Regions from separate parts of the Homo sapiens genome. Here region 1 is linked to region 2. The links are contacts of gene promoters, found by promoter capture Hi-C in blood cells and fetal thymus (Javierre and others, 2016). All regions are on one chromosome and are shown on one strand. Each heading gives the region's core, a stretch centred on a gene start or on the middle of the fragment in contact. The rest is flanking DNA. Distances are from core to core; before and after follow the strand shown. Region 1 holds the start of MYORG (myogenesis regulating glycosidase). Region 2 overlaps DNAI1 (dynein axonemal intermediate chain 1).

Region 1 (2,700 bases), core at 155-2,654, 120 kb after region 2:
AGCCCAGGAATTCGATACCAGCTGGGGCAACATAAAGAGACCCCTTCTCTACAAAAAAATTTAAAAATTAGCAGGGTATGGTGGCACACACATGTGGTCCAAGTTACTCAGGAGCCTGAGGCGGGAGGGGATAGCTTGAACCAAGGACATTGAGGCTGCAGTGAGCTATGTTAACGCCACTGCACTCCAGCCTGGGCGACAGAGCGAGACCCTCTCTCAAAAAAATAAAGACCGGACGCGGTGGCCCACACTTGTAATCCCAGCACTTTGGGAGGCCGAGGCAGGTAGATCACCTGAGGTCAGGAGTTTGAGACCAGCCTGACCAACATGGTGAAACTCTGTCTCTACTAAAAATACAAAATTAGCCAGGCGCGGTGGTGCGTGCCTGTAATCCCAGCTACTTGGGAGGCTGAGGCAGGAGAATTGCTTGAACCCGGGAGGCGGAGTTTGCAGTGAGCTGAGATCGTGCCATTGTACTCCAGCCTGGGCAACAAGAACGAAACTCAAAAATAAATAAATATAAAAATAAAATAAAATAAAAAAGAAATGAAACCTCAGAGTCTTGCCCAGCCCCCGGGGAGAGGGGCATGGCGGGGCACACCCACTTTCCCGCAGCTTGGGCATTTCTAACTAAAGGCTGTAACTTAGGAGGAGGGGCTGGACCCTATAAATAACTAGTCTGGGGGTAGCGGTCTGGGAGGCGGGTGACGTTGCAAAACACCGAGCAGAAACCGGTCTTCTCAGTCCCTGACCTCGGACACCGCTGGTTTGGTCCGGTGGGAACCGACAGCTTGGACTCGCGGCGGGTTGGAACTACAGCTCCCTCCGTGGGGCCCTCGATTGGAAGCACCTGCATTGGGAGCTGAGATACTCGCGGAATTCCGCCACCACTTTTCCGTATGGAAAGCTGAGGGCTTGTGAGAGCGTTATACCGATATGGCCTCCACCTGTCCAAACCGGGAAGGAAGGAATTCCAATGGCCAGCTCTGCTCCTTTACCCTGCAGCTCTCTCCCTCTCATCCTCATTCCAAACCTAGCCTAGAGGTGCAAGAACCCCAACCTTCCGCAGCTGCTCCTTTCTGCAGAACTACATGTCCCAGCAGGCCTGGGGCCGAGCCCCGCCCGCTTGCGGGTTAGCAGTGGCCCAGGAGGGGCGGGCCCGCCGGCGGGAGTCGGAGCCGCGGGGCGCAGGACTGAGCAAGCCTGAAATGCCAGGGGCAGAGCACAGAGCGGTGGGAGGAAGGTGGGGCTGAGGGGCGGGGCCACAGATCCGCCTGATAACCTGGGAGGAGGGGTCGAACGTCAAGGGCAGGGCTGGACTCTGAGGCCCGAGACGAGACTGGATGACTGGGGCGTGGCCGAGGAACCCCAGGGCGGGACCCGAGGAGGGGCTGTGCCCTGCCAGACAGAGCCCCGCGCGGCGCGGCGGCAGCTTCACTCTGGTTCAAGCGCAGGGGATCGGCGGGAAGCTCTTTCACCCCCGCTTCTGCCGGGCTGTAACTGCAATGGGTGAGCCCAGCGGGAGGGCTGTGGGGGGCGGGGGGCTGCTGAAGGAGCACGATTCCTGAACTTTCGCTCCCACCGATGAATGGGTGGAGCGAGCCTGAACACCTGGGCCCATCCCACGGCCGCGATTCCCGCGGGGCGACAGGTCCCTTGACCTCGGTCGGCCCCTTCGGACAGTATAGCCTTCAGGGCGGGGTAGGGAGGGCGGCTGTGGAGTATTCCAGGCTATGTAGGCAGTCACTCGATCCCCGCGGATACCGTCGCCTGGCAGGAGAGGGAGATGGGCCGGATCGAGTTGCCTTTGACATTTCCATCCCCCCGGGAACTGTGTCCAACTAACGATTCTACTTGGAATGGCCTCCCCTCAGTTGAGTCGGGCGGGGCCCTCCCCCTCAGACCAGACTAGCTGTGGCAGCCAAGGCTGAGGTTGAGTGTCCGGTGGGGAGAGGCTCAGCAGGGGCAGAGCCCAGACTCCACCTGGCGGAGGCGGCAGATTACAGAGGTCTCTGGCACCACTGTTAACACCGGAACCACAGACTTCCTCCCCCAAAGCCCCGGTACCAGATGCCATTAAAATTGCCCTCTTTGCTGCCCTCGTGGTCTTCGTGGTCCGCGTGGAGCAAGCAGCAGCACCAGCCCTTGGAAAGACAGGCCTCACCATGCCATGTCCATCTGATGGAAGCTGGTCCCACCAGCTCAGCCCCAGGGCTCCTTTCTGCTACTGCATTCAGGCAGCCAGGTCAGATCATTATCTCCCATCTCCTAAAACTTACACTGTGGAGAGCTGGGCTGGGATTTTAGATCCAGGCAGCCTTGATACCTGGCTAACTTCAGACAAGTTCCTTTTTCTGTTTGGGCCACGTTTCCTCACCTGTAAAATGGACACTGCAGCTATGTCTGCTGTTCCACATTGTTGATAGAACTGGATGCTGTGGTGACATTTGGGACACTATCATGGTGCCTGGGGTGGGTGGGTGCCCAGGCCTGTGGGCTTCTGTCTTTCATCAAAGAACTTCAGATCCCAGAAAATTAAGATTCTCAAAACATAACTGTCGGAAAGGGCTTTTGAATCCACCTTGGTGGCCTCTTCCTGCCTCCAGGGCTCATGAGATAGGCTGACTTCATATGAAAGTTTTGAGGATGAGGAAGTCTCTCTCCTCTTCAGATACTGACCCTCTCTCTCCTTATTTCCTT
Region 2 (2,700 bases), core at 118-2,617:
TGTAAATTGCATAGCACAATGCCTGACACACAGGCTACTCCCAGTGAATGCTGGAGCTTGTTTCTCACTATTATAACTGTTCCCTTTTCTCCATTCCTTAAGACACAGGCTAGGTCAGGTGTGGTAAGGCCCATTCCACCCCACATTTGAGCCTCACCTCCACCTCTGCCCTATATTCTACACAATCACATCCTCCTCCAGCCTTGCTCTCATCGGGCTGTGTCCCTGCCTAGAAAGTTTCAGTTCTCTGAACTGTCTGCAGAGATAGGTCACATTCCTTGCATGATATTCAAGGCCCTTCATTAATGGGCTCCAACAACCTCTTCCGCCTGAACTCTCACCTCTTTTCAATGAAGATCCTGTTTGGGTCAGGGAGCCTGCTGTCCCTTGTCCCCAGAGTCCATTCCTATTCGGTTTCACTGCCAAGACACTGCTCATGCCATCCCTGTCCAGAACATCCTCCCTGTAGCTATCTTCTCTCACACACTCTGCTTCTCCCTTGGCATCTAGCTAAGCCCTCTCCAAAGCCTTCCATAACTACTCCCACTCATCCCTCACTTTCCTTCTCTCCTATGTGAGGATCCCCAGAGTGGTTTCTGTCTACCCCATACATTCTGGCATTTATAGCATTCCCAAGGTGCTCTGAGTAGAGGACAGAGCATAGAATGAGGAAGATCGAGACCTCTATTTGGGTCCTCTCTGCCACTCACTAGTCAGGTGGCCTTAGCCTTAGCTTCCTCATGTGTACAGTATGGGCAAGTCTCTGCTCTGCCTGCCTCCCAGGGTTATCAGGAAGATGAGATTGGATCACCCATGTGCAGGTATTCTTTGCTGCACCACTTCCAGATCTCATCAGTATACACATTGTTTCTTATGCCATCAGTCATGGTTAATCCACATAAGTCTTGTCTCCCCAGTGACATCCAGAGGACAGAGGGATTATTTTTTCTCCGCTTGCACCTATAGGAGCTAGCAAGAGACACCCAAATAACCCAAGCTTTTATGAGAAATTTTTAATACAGGCAATAATAGTGGTTGCCAGAACTTCAACTCTTACCTTGAGCAATGTCATCATATGTATTCTGGTTGACCATCCGCTCCATGATCTTAGCAGCTTGGGACAATTTGATGAGATCATCAGTCTGTGGGGATACAGAAACTTCAGGTCCTCATAAACCAGCACTTAGCAAGGTCATATGTCCTGAGCCATGTCACCCTTGCAATTGATTCAGCAGTAGCTCTCTGGCACTACTCACCCCAGATAGCTCTGTAAAGGTTTCTCTGCATGTCTCAAGGCCCAGCTCATGCCACTACCCTCTTCTAGGAACTCCTACCTCACAAGTGGCACAAAGGGTCTGAGCTGATATACTTGGCCCCTGGGTAGAACCTGCTTCATGCTTTCATTCTGGACTTGTTTTGGAGAAGGCCTATCTCTGAGCACAAGACAGGGCATTGAAGAGAGCCCAGGAAGGGTCTGCAGGGGAGAGCAGACAAGGGCAGGTTGGAGCCTTCTTTGGTGGAGACAGAAAAGTTTTACCAGCTCAGAGAGTGAAAGACTCCCATTAAAGGCCTCAAAGATCATGTGGTTTTATCCCTTACTCAGTTACAGGCTGAGGAAGGCACCAAGGCCCAAAGAGGGGAGAGACATGCTTACATACATGGAGTACAAGGCAGAACTGAGACTCCTAATTCCAGGCCCTCCCCACAGCCCAGACCAATGAGAAAGCAGGAAGCTTAACTTCAGGAAAACGTGACTCATCTTGAACCAAAAGGAAGCTTGCCATTGTGTGAAATTCCATAAATCCCCAAGATGAGGTGCTTGGCAGGTTGACAGAAGAGCAAAGAGTTTGGGACTAACAGGAAAGGCCCAGAGGGCTTAGGGCAGGTGGCAGGAGTGAGCCAGCTGAATGGGCAGCCCTCCAGGGTAGGGTCAGGGGGCCAGGCCCATGGCTCCCAAGGATTCGATGTCTCAGAAACAGCAGCGTCAGGTAGCGGTTAAAAGGATGGGTTCTAGAGCCGCACAGACCTGCACTCCTATCCCATCCCACCAAAATTAGAACCCGGTGGCAACCTCTGGCAAGTTATTTAGCTTCTCTGAGTCTTAGACTCCTCCTGGTAAGTGGGGGCGGATGGTGGCATCTGCCTCATCAGGTCATTGTGATGGTGAAATGTGATAATACATGTTAGTGTCTAACCCAGTTCCCGGTGGTGATGGTGTCAGAGGAAACATGCAGAGTAGTGCAGCGAAGGGTTATGAAGTCACTTCTGGGGAACTGACCTTTGAGGACCTTTTGCCACGCCTGAAAGAGACTCCAAGTTTATCTTTGAAAACTGACCAAGAAGGGCATTCACTGGAGTCTTGCAGTCACGGACCTCAGAGTTCACCTGGTTCCAGCTACGCTCTCTATTCTCTGACCCAGAGCAGGAATCCTCTCCCCTTAGCAGCTTCCTGGTAAGTGTGACTCTCCCCAGGTCAGGCAGTGTTTTCTGTGGCCAGATAGCCAGTTAACTGAAACTCCCTCCCTGCATCTTCTACCTATGGGCCCAACTCTGTCCTCTGGCCACAAGGAATTGGATGCTTGGTGAGAGCTCCTTTGAGGTAGGAGGACACAGCCACATGCCCTCAAGTCAGCACTTCCTCGGGTGACTCCTCCCAGCTCCATCAGTCATGAAATGGCATATCAATAACAATAGCTACCA

What was found. The method cuts DNA at HindIII sites, captures the fragments that hold promoters and counts their contacts. A CHiCAGO score of 5 or more calls a contact.
Region 1: the fragment with the promoter of MYORG here is called in contact with a fragment that was not itself captured in region 2 in 1 of 17 cell types (endothelial precursors); the score reaches 6.3 in endothelial precursors.

The regions. Positions count from the first base shown.
Region 1 is chr9:34,375,602-34,378,301 of GRCh38, reverse strand. It overlaps MYORG (myogenesis regulating glycosidase), which reads left to right and starts at 1,404. Exons shown (of 2, transcript NM_020702.5): 1 at 1,404-1,509. RefSeq lists a silencer at 1,040-1,429 and enhancers at 1,475-2,055, 2,056-2,637. The HindIII fragment of the contact is 6,785 bases long and covers 1-2,700 here.
Region 2 is chr9:34,495,557-34,498,256 of GRCh38, reverse strand. It overlaps DNAI1 (dynein axonemal intermediate chain 1), which reads right to left. Exons shown (of 20, transcript NM_012144.4): 10 at 1,058-1,142. Among named protein-coding and RNA genes, the nearest start is that of ENHO, 26 kb to the left of the region's middle. The HindIII fragment of the contact is 736 bases long and covers 1,000-1,735 here.